Linked DNA regions of Homo sapiens: region 2 is linked to region 1. The links are contacts of gene promoters, found by promoter capture Hi-C in blood cells and fetal thymus (Javierre and others, 2016). All regions are on one chromosome and are shown on one strand. Each heading gives the region's core, a stretch centred on a gene start or on the middle of the fragment in contact. The rest is flanking DNA. Distances are from core to core; before and after follow the strand shown. Region 1 holds the start of RPS15A (ribosomal protein S15a). Region 2 overlaps GDE1 (glycerophosphodiester phosphodiesterase 1).

Evidence for each region. Contacts are between HindIII fragments. The CHiCAGO score rates a contact against its expected background, and 5 or more counts as called.
Region 2: a contact is called between a fragment that was not itself captured here and the fragment with the promoter of RPS15A in region 1, in 2 of 17 cell types (neutrophils and fetal thymus). The highest score is 11.8, in neutrophils.

The regions. Positions count from the first base shown.
Region 1 is chr16:18,788,427-18,793,060 of GRCh38, reverse strand. RPS15A (ribosomal protein S15a) reads left to right here and starts at 2,727. Exons shown (of 5, transcript NM_001019.5): 1 at 2,727-2,817; 2 at 3,943-4,080. The coding sequence starts at 3,948. It overlaps ARL6IP1 (ARL6 interacting reticulophagy regulator 1), which reads left to right. Exons shown (of 6, transcript NM_015161.3): 6 at 1-1,392. RefSeq lists enhancers at 2,490-3,119, 3,057-3,774. The HindIII fragment of the contact is 4,087 bases long and covers 944-4,634 here.
Region 2 is chr16:19,505,571-19,510,204 of GRCh38, reverse strand. It overlaps GDE1 (glycerophosphodiester phosphodiesterase 1), which reads left to right. Exons shown (of 6, transcript NM_016641.4): 4 at 2,426-2,518. Among named protein-coding and RNA genes, the nearest start is that of GDE1, 14 kb to the left of the region's middle. The HindIII fragment of the contact is 4,234 bases long and covers 1-4,052 here.

The DNA.
Region 1 (4,634 bases), core at 1,478-3,977:
CGCGTTCTTAGCAGTTGGCTTCATGGACAACTCATTAGTGTTTTGACTTTTCTTACCCAGCGTTAATTGAATTCTTGCTTTTAGACAACTTCCTTTTTGTAGTGGTGAACCTTGCCCTTTAGTACAGTTCAAGTGAATCTGGATAATTGTTCATCTTTGCTTTAGCTTAGATACCATGTAGTGGTCTGTGGCTACAGGAAGCTGGTTCTGTCTGCTTCCACAGTCTGCTTAAAAAACTGTCTGACTTCGTGAATATAGAGACCAAGTTTACCACTTCTGATGAAGAGACCAATTAAGATTCATTCCTCATTCTGTTTCTTTCCAGTGGGAGAAGAGTCCCCATGAAATAAGATGAAACTGATTCCATGCACTAGTACATGTAGGCTTCTCCCTTGTGCAAAGCTTAGCAATTTGTAGGAAACTTTGATCTTTTTGTCCAAGAAAAGGAATGTCTGACAGGCTTAAGCTTTCGTCCCCTTGCACTTAGACTCGAAGTTAGTAAATCCTTAAAGGCTTTTTAATAGCAGACTTCCAAAAGATTGCATTTAGGATTTCTAGCATGCTTTTAATTTCAGATTTTCAGCTGACATTAGCTATAGTATACAGTAGGTTAAGACTCATGTCTATGACTTTCACTCTAAGACTGGCAAAAGGACAGCAGTCTTCTATGTTTAGTCAATATTCATTTCAGTAGAAGATAATCTTATCTAATTTTTGAGACCAGAATAAGCCTTTTAAGGTAAACCTCAAAATTATCATTTTATGGTAATACTGACCATTTTAGTCCCCTAGGTTTGACATGGGAGATAGTGACTACACTGGTGTCTGACTTTTTTCCTAGAGATTTCTCCCTGAAAAATACAAGGGCTGTTGGTGAGAGCAGACTTGAGGTGATGATAGTTGGCCTCTGGTCTACAAAGATTTCATAACTCCTTGGAAAGCTTCTTATAATCATTCTTAACTTCTTGGTAGCTAGAAATTTAGAGTAGTTGAAATCTTTAGGAATGAACTTCTGAGGGCCAAAAAATGTGACTGACGGGAACAATTCTTAAACTGATTAACTAGCTGTAATATAGTTTTGTGAATTTATTGCACTGATGTTGTACCTTGTGGTATATCTGTCCCTATTAAATAAGTGTTGTTTTCTCCTCTTTAATATTGCTGTGAACAGTGGTGCCCATTGTAGCATATGTTTGATTTTTTTTTATTATTTCATAAGAAAACTACGTTAATTTTACCTTACTTTCATTGTAAATAAGCCTGTCTTCCTATCTGGATTTTTTGTGTGCATACATATTCTACTGATTAACTACTTTTGCAGTTTTAATCCTGTATTATTTCTTCTACTTTGTTTTGTGTAAAAGGGGAAAAAATAAAAAAAGCTGGAATCTTCATGTCTCACTTTCTTTATAACTTAGCCAATATAATATTTATGATTGGATTTATGAATCTGATTAATGAAGTACCCTGTGTGGTCCTTAGATGTCTATAAGGTACCCTACCTGTAATCCCACCACTTTGGGAGACCTGGGCAGGAGGTTCACTGGAGTCCATGAGTTTGAGGTTGCATTGAGCTGAGTGTACCCCTGCACTCTAGCCTGGGCAACAGAGCAGGACCCTGTCTAGGAAAAATTTTAAAAAAGAACAAAAATAAAAGGTTTAAGTTTTATTTAGCAAATATCCAGGTACCATGCTAGAGGGAAGAGGAAATGCAACGAATGAGCAGGGGCATTGACGTGTGAGAGAGGACGAAGCTGGAAGAACCGGCAGGGACAGAACTGGCTAAATGGTGCCTGTGTGGGCACCTCGTACCCCAGGGCCTTGCTAGCGTCTGGTACATGGGTGCTCAGTAAACAACTGTTGGGTGACTTTTGTCTGAACTTAACTTTTTAATTAAAAAAAAATTTTTAGCCGGGTGTGGTGGCTCACGCCTGTAATCCCAACACTTTGGGAGGCCGAGGTGGGCAGATCACTTGATGTCAGGGGTTTGAGACGAGCCTGGCCAACATGGTGAAACCCCGTCTCTACTAAAAATACAAAAATTAGCCGGGTGTGATGGCGGGCGCCTGTAATCCCAGGTACTCTGGAGGCTGGGGCAGGAGAACCGCTTGAACCCGGGAGGCGGAGGCTGCAGTGCGCCAAGATCGCGCCACTGGACTCCAGCCTGGGCGACAGAGCGAGACTCCTTATCAAAAGTAAACTAAAATAAAAATTAAGGCCCGCGCGGTGGCTCCCGCCTGTAATCCCAGCACTTTCGGAGGCCGAGGCGGGCGGATCGCAAGGTCAGGAGATCAAGAACATCTTCGCCAACTTGGGGAAACCTCGTCTCTACTAAAAATACAAAAATTAGCCGGGCGTGGTGGCGCATCTCTGTAGTTCCAGCTACTCAGGAGGCTGAGGCAGGAGAATCACTTGAACCCGGGAGGCGCAGGTTGCAGTGAGCCGAGATCACGCCACTGCACTCCAGTCTGGGCTACAAGAGCGAAACTGTCTCAAAAAAAAAAAAAAAATGTAGACGAACCTCCAACGAACGGCTCACCTTGCCTCTCCCAGGCCCCACCGGGGGAGGTCGATTCCATCGACTCTCAACTGCCAACCCCTGAGGAGGCTCCGCCTTTCCCTCACCCTCGTCCTTCTCCTAGGCGGTCCTTGTTTTTGCCGGGCCTTTGAAAGTCTCGCGATAGCTCTCCCGCTTCCCATAACTCCGTGCGCTCTCCCCTCCCGTCCTCTTTCCGCCATCTTTCCGCGCCGGTGAGTAGCACTCTCTGAGAGCTCCAATTTCATCCGTCTGCCATCGGCGCCATCCTGCAATCTAAGGTTCGGTCTCGGTGTCCTGCGAGGAGGCTGGTCCCCACCTTGGCCGAGGATCCTGGCCTTGCCGGTTCCTGGACAGGCATAGAGGAGAGCCATGGCTGGGCGCCCCAGACTGTGCACTCAGGGGATCCCGGTCCGTGGGGTGCAGGCCGCAGCGCGGGCGGGAGCCGGAGCCTTCGACTGCCCAGCTAGGCGGTAGCTCCGGTTCGGGCCGCAGCGTCTGGATCTCCCTTTAGTGCTGAGGCAGCGCCTTGGCCCCGGGCGGCGGGCAACATCGGGGCTGGTGGGCCGTGCAGCTTCTCACTGCTGCGGCCGCGCTGGGAGCTTGGGAGGCTGAGGCCACCCAGCAGGTAAAAGCTGCATCGTGCCGGGGTTGGCAGTTTGCTGGGTGCCAACTTGGATCTTCTGGGCCGCAGAGTTTTTCTTTAGACACTTTTGAACTTAAGGAATTTAAGTTCTACTCTTTACTATTGGCACTTTGGTCTTTCAAAACTTCAGTGTAGTGTGCGGTTCTTGCCCATTAGAAGAGAGTCCAGTCTGACAAGCATGTAAAATGTTTCTGTTTGCCACTGTGGCTCTTGCTGTTGGACGCAATTTTAAATGGCACGAAGATGGATGTTTAATAGTTAGATGTGTTCATTGTAGGTGAGAGTGAACTGATTTAAAGTACAATGTTAATAGTATGGAATCTGCTGATTTTCAGCAATTTGGAAAATGTTGCCGATGATACTCTGCTTCTGTTCTGAATCACTGATCGACTATACCCGATGTTTTCCTTCCGGTAGCTGGCAGTTTCTGCCAGTTCTCACGTTGTCTTGTGTCAAGTGGATTTTGTCCCACATTTTATTATCTCCAGACGTTGGTGTGTGGCACGATTCGAAGAAGAGTGGTTAGTGAATGAATGAGTTTCAAAATGTGCAGGCTGACGTCCCGATAACCTGTTTTCAACAACCGTAGTAAATAGGAATTTTCCTGGGTGGTGGGAAATGGAGAAGCAGCCTGCTTAGACTTGAGAAAACTTCGCCAAGGTGGGGCCAGAAAGGAAAGGATACTTCCGCAGTGTAATGGTTGGTGTCTGTTGATGTTGGCAATGCCAGTAAAACCTCCTGTTTTGTCTTCCTTGAACAGCCACAATGGTGCGCATGAATGTCCTGGCAGATGCTCTCAAGAGTATCAACAATGCCGAAAAGAGAGGCAAACGCCAGGTGCTTATTAGGCCGTGCTCCAAAGTCATCGTCCGGTTTCTCACTGTGATGATGAAGCATGGTAAGTCTGCTGCCGCTGTGTTTTATGTTTTCATGTGAGACTCTCTAAGAAATCAGTCCTGTAGAAATTAATTATGGGGGACCAAAGTATGTCTGTCATACCTGAGAACGAATGCAATTGACCTGTGGGCTGTGGAGGAGGGGATAGTCTGAAACTGCTGAAGAGTCACTTAGAGTAGGACTGCTGGAAAAAGGAGCTCTGCTAGGTGTTTGGGAGCTAAATGAATCTAAGTCATTGAAAGGACTCCTGAGCTCATTTCGAGACCAGCCTGGCCAACATGGCAAAACCCCGTCTCTACTAAAAAAACAAAAAACAAAAACAAAAATCAGCCGGTCGTGGTGGCAGGCGCCTGTAGTCCCAGCTCTTTGGAGGCTGAGGCAGGGAGAATTGTTTGAACCCAGCAGGTGGAGGTTGCAGTGAGCCGAGATCGGCCACTGCACTCCAGCCTGGGCGACAGTGCAAGACTCCATCTCAAAAAAAAAAAAAAGAAAGAAAGGACTCTTGAGATCTTCTCAGAGCTCTTTGAGAGGAAAGATTGGATTATTGCACTTCTT
Region 2 (4,634 bases), core at 686-3,185, 720 kb before region 1:
ACTTACACTCATAAGAACATATTATTACAGTGAAAATCAGTGGGAAGATATGATTCTGATTACATTTGTTCTCTTATAACCAGCTTTTCAAGTGCAAGTACTTTTTTCCCCATTTGGGCAACTTGAGTATTTTTCCCCTAGCAATATTAATAATCGGTAAGGGCCATCTACTGGTTGAGAATTCTGATGATGCCAATTTTTTTTTTTAATTAATCCCATGATATCATTGAAACCAGTTGTTAAAACCCAAAATGGGCCGGGTGCAGTGGCTCACACCTGTAATCCCAGCACTTTGGGAGTGGATCACCTGAGGTCAGGAGTTCGAGACCAGCCTGGCCAACATGGTGAAACCCCTGTCTCCACTAAAAATACAAAAATTAGCTGGACTTGGTGGCGGGCACCTGTAATCCCAGCTACTCGGGAGGCTGAGGCAGGAGAATCGCTTGAACCGGGGAGACAGAGGTTGCACTGAGCCGAGATTGCGCCAGTAGTACTCCAGCCTGGGTGACAGAGCGAGACTCCGTCTCAAAAAAAAAAAAAAAACCTGAAATGTGGAGCCTAAGTATACACTCTAATTTTATTAACAGTTAATTCCTATTTTTGAAGAAGGAAGATAATGGTAACTAATTTATTATTCTAGTAAACCGATAGTTGTATACGTCTAGGTTTTCCAATTGGTCTGCGTTAGAATCACCTGTACCTATTTTAAAATATAAATTCCTGGGCCATTCTCCCTAGGGAAGAGATTCTGAAAATGTCTAGGGTGGGCTCAAGGAACATGTATTTTTAATGAGCACCTCAGGTGCTCATTGTTGATGTTGCAGCCCACATTTGGGAACCCTGATAGGTCCTACATTTCACCCATGGTATACTGACTTTTATGCTTATTCTCTTAGATTTTTTGAGACAGAGTCTCACTCTGTCACCTAGGCTGGAGTGCATTGGCGCGATCTCGGCTCAATGCAACCTCTGCCTCCGGGGTTCAAGCAATTCTCCTGCCTCAGCCTCCCAAGCAGCTGAGATTAGAGGCATGTGCCATCACACCCGGCTAATTTTTGTATATTTAGTAGAGATGGGGTTTTGCCATGTTGGCCAGGCTGGTCTCAAACTCCTGGCCTCGAGTGATCCGCCCACCTTGGCCTCCCAAAGTGCTGGGATTACAGGTGTGAGCCACCACGCCTGGCTTCTCTTAGAATACTTTTTAAAAAGAAGTAGACATTTAAAAAAGAAAATCTAGCTATTTGAGTCTTCTGAATGGGTGCTCATGGGTGTTCAGCCAAGACTGGGTAGAACATAGTGACCTAATTCACCAAGATGGTAGTAGAAAGGCACAAGTGTAGGCAACAAAGTGGAGCTAGTAGAGCACAGTGGCCAAAATCATGGGCTTGGGACTCCAACAGTCCTTGACTGAGCTCTTACTACAGGGTAACCTTAACTTTGATGAGCTTCAGTTTCTTCATGGGTAAAATGGGGATACTAAAAGCAGTTACCACATAAGGTTGTTGTGAGAATTAAATAATGTAAATGCTAAGAGTTTACAGTGCATGTCTTTGTTCAAACAGAAAAAAAAATGCTTTCTATAGCTTGCCTTCAGTTGCATTAGCGAAGAGGAGGCATGACATGGATAATTTGTGTCCTTTTTTATTTTGGTGGGGGAATGCATTTTGCTCATCATATTTGGTTAGGGGTATGTGTAACATTCCAAAAATTAGCAGTGTTTCACAAATTATGCAGCAGCAGCATTGCGTCCCACATGGCTGGTGACTTTCTTGTTGTTAGCTGCTATTGATGTCACTTCACTAGGGGTTACCAAATAATACTTAAATTCTATCATGTCTTCTTCATTTCGTAGCTAGACTACTATAAAAAGAAACTTCTGTTCACCTTGGGAAGAATTGGGAGCCCCTTAACTCTTCCCAGTCCCTCCTACCCTTGCCCCATTACTTCTCCCTCCATATTGGTGATGGGTAATGCGTCCTCTCAGTCCCCTGGACTGAGAAATCTATCCTCTGTAGTTCCCAGACTGGCTGGCTCATGTTTCATTTAGAAAAGGCACAGAGTGATAGAGCTGTGGGTATGAAAGGACTTTTCATAGTGGCTAAACTAGGGTATAAGGCAAGGAAAATTTTGCCTCTGGCCTCATCTGACCTACGGCTTACCACACTTTTCAAAAGTATTCCAAAAGGGGTGAGGCCCTCAGAGGGAGTAAAGCAGCAGTACTCCACCTTCTTCCTTGTTTGCTGCTGGTGTGAGTTTAAAATGCATCCCAGTGGATAATAGACTCTACCAATACTTTCAGTACCTCCATTTCTAGTAAACTTCTGTTTTATTCCATAGGGTTGTACTTAATATGTGATAGTTATTGGCTGGGGCTATCTATCACATTTTAATCAATTTTAAATATATGAATCTCTTTATTTTACAGGCTACTGAGGCTCTAAAGAAAATGTATATGGAATTTCCTCAACTGTATAATAATAGTGTGGTCTGTTCTTTCTTGCCAGAAGTTATCTACAAGGTAACATTCGGGATTTTTCTTGTACATATTAGGTGAGCTGGTGTAGATAATTGCAATGGGCTGCGTAAGCACAGGATAGATGCCTATTAAATTGAACTGCATCAGGGTCACAGTTGAGAAGCTCCTCTTTTAAATTAACCAGAGAAATTCCAGAAGGGGAATGTACTCATACCCCTTACAGAATGCCATTATTCCTCTTTTGCCCCTTCTTTTATGTTGTTTATAGGCTCACTCAGATTACTGTAGTAAAATTCTCACAACAGAAAAGAATTATGTAGCCCCTACTTCTCACCAACTAACAGCAGAACATACCTTCATAAAATAAATTCTTAATTATGGAGAATCTAAAACATGCATAAAATAAAGTAGTAGTGTACCCCCCCTTTAACTGTGATCCAGCTCATTTCACCCATAACCCCATTGATCCTCCCCAGTGTTATTTTGAAGCAAATCTTATTCCATCCATAAAATTGCATTAAGAATCTTTAAAAAGTGATGCCATTTTATTTATTTATTTATTTATTTATTTATTTATTTATTTATTTTAAAAGACGGGTTCTCCCTCAGTTTCCCAGGCTGGAGTGCAGTGGTGTGATCACAGCTCACTGCACTCTTGACCTTCCAGGCTCAAATGATCCTCCTGCCTCAGCCTTCCAAGTAGCTGGGACCACAGGCGCACGTCACCACGCCCAGCTAATTTTTTATTTTTATTTTTTGTAGAGACAGGGTCTCCCTGTATTACCCAGGCAGTTCTCCAACTCCTAAGCTCAAGCAATCCTTCCACCTCAGCCTCTCAAAGTGCTGGGATTACAGGCATGAGCCACAGTAACCAGCCTAGTGATGCCTTTTTAAAAACATAGCCACAATGCCATTGTCCCATCTAAAAATTATTAACAATAAATTATTCATATCATCAAATATCCAGTGTATAAATTTTGACTTGTCTCGGAAATGTCATAAATGGTTGTTTTTCATAAATTGCTCATTCGAATAGGACCCAAGTAAGATCGGCGTGTTACAATCGTAAATCTTTTTTTGTTTGTTTTTGAGACGGAGTCTTGCTCTGTCGCCCAGTGGTATGATCTCGGCTCATCGCAACCTCTGCCTCCCGGGTTCAAGCAATTCTCTTGCCTCAGCCTCCTGAGTAGCTGGGATTACAAGCACACACCACCATGCCTGGCTAATTTTTTTTGTATTTTAGTAGAGACGGGGTTTTGCCATGTTGGCCAGGCTGGTCTCGAGCTCCTGACCTCAGGTGATCTGCCTGCCTCGGCCTCCCAAAATGATTACAGGTGTGAGCCACTATGCCCTGCCGGCAACTGTAAATCTTAAAACTTGCAGGTTCTGTCTCTCTCTCTCTCTGTTTTTTTTGTTTGTTTGTTTTGGGGGGGGTCCTTGTTTTGTATTTACTGAAGAAACCGGATTATTGTTTTGTAGAGTTTACCCAAGTCCAAATTTTGCTGATTATGCCATGATATGGCTTAATATTTTTTTCTCTTTATTTTCTATAAACTGGTAGCGAGAGCTGGAAGCTTGCCTTGATGAGGTTAGGGTTGGTTATTCTTGGCAAGATAACTCTAGAGATGAGGGTGTTTTTCCGTCAGGAGGCACTTGACATCTGGTTGACTCCTGTTGTTTTTGGCTGCTATTGATGCTCATTGGCCAGATCTGTCCATTTTCTAGGGAGCTACAAAATGCTGATATTTTAATTCTATTACTTCTTGCATTAGCTGAAATAGATCTTTAAAAAGAAACTTTTCCTCCTCTACTATTTAGTTACCAAATAGGCAGAATAAATGCTTTATCTTTCCTTTTATTTACCAGTTTCCAGAATAACAAGCTGGTTCCGTAGCATTCTTTACCAGTGACCAACAGAGCATACATTGAAAATTTTTACAGTGAGGATAGAGCCTATCAATAGAAGCTGTCATGGAGTTGAATAGGGTCATGGGGCTTGCAGACATTTGGAACAGTGTTTCCCAAACTTCCTTGACCACAGAGTCCTTTAAAACGTATAAGACATTCCCCCAGAGGAGCACAAGAGCAGAGACTAAAGGAACTCCATCCACATCTCTCCATTTCTCTGTTGTCCTCTCCCATTCTCTCGTCACAATCC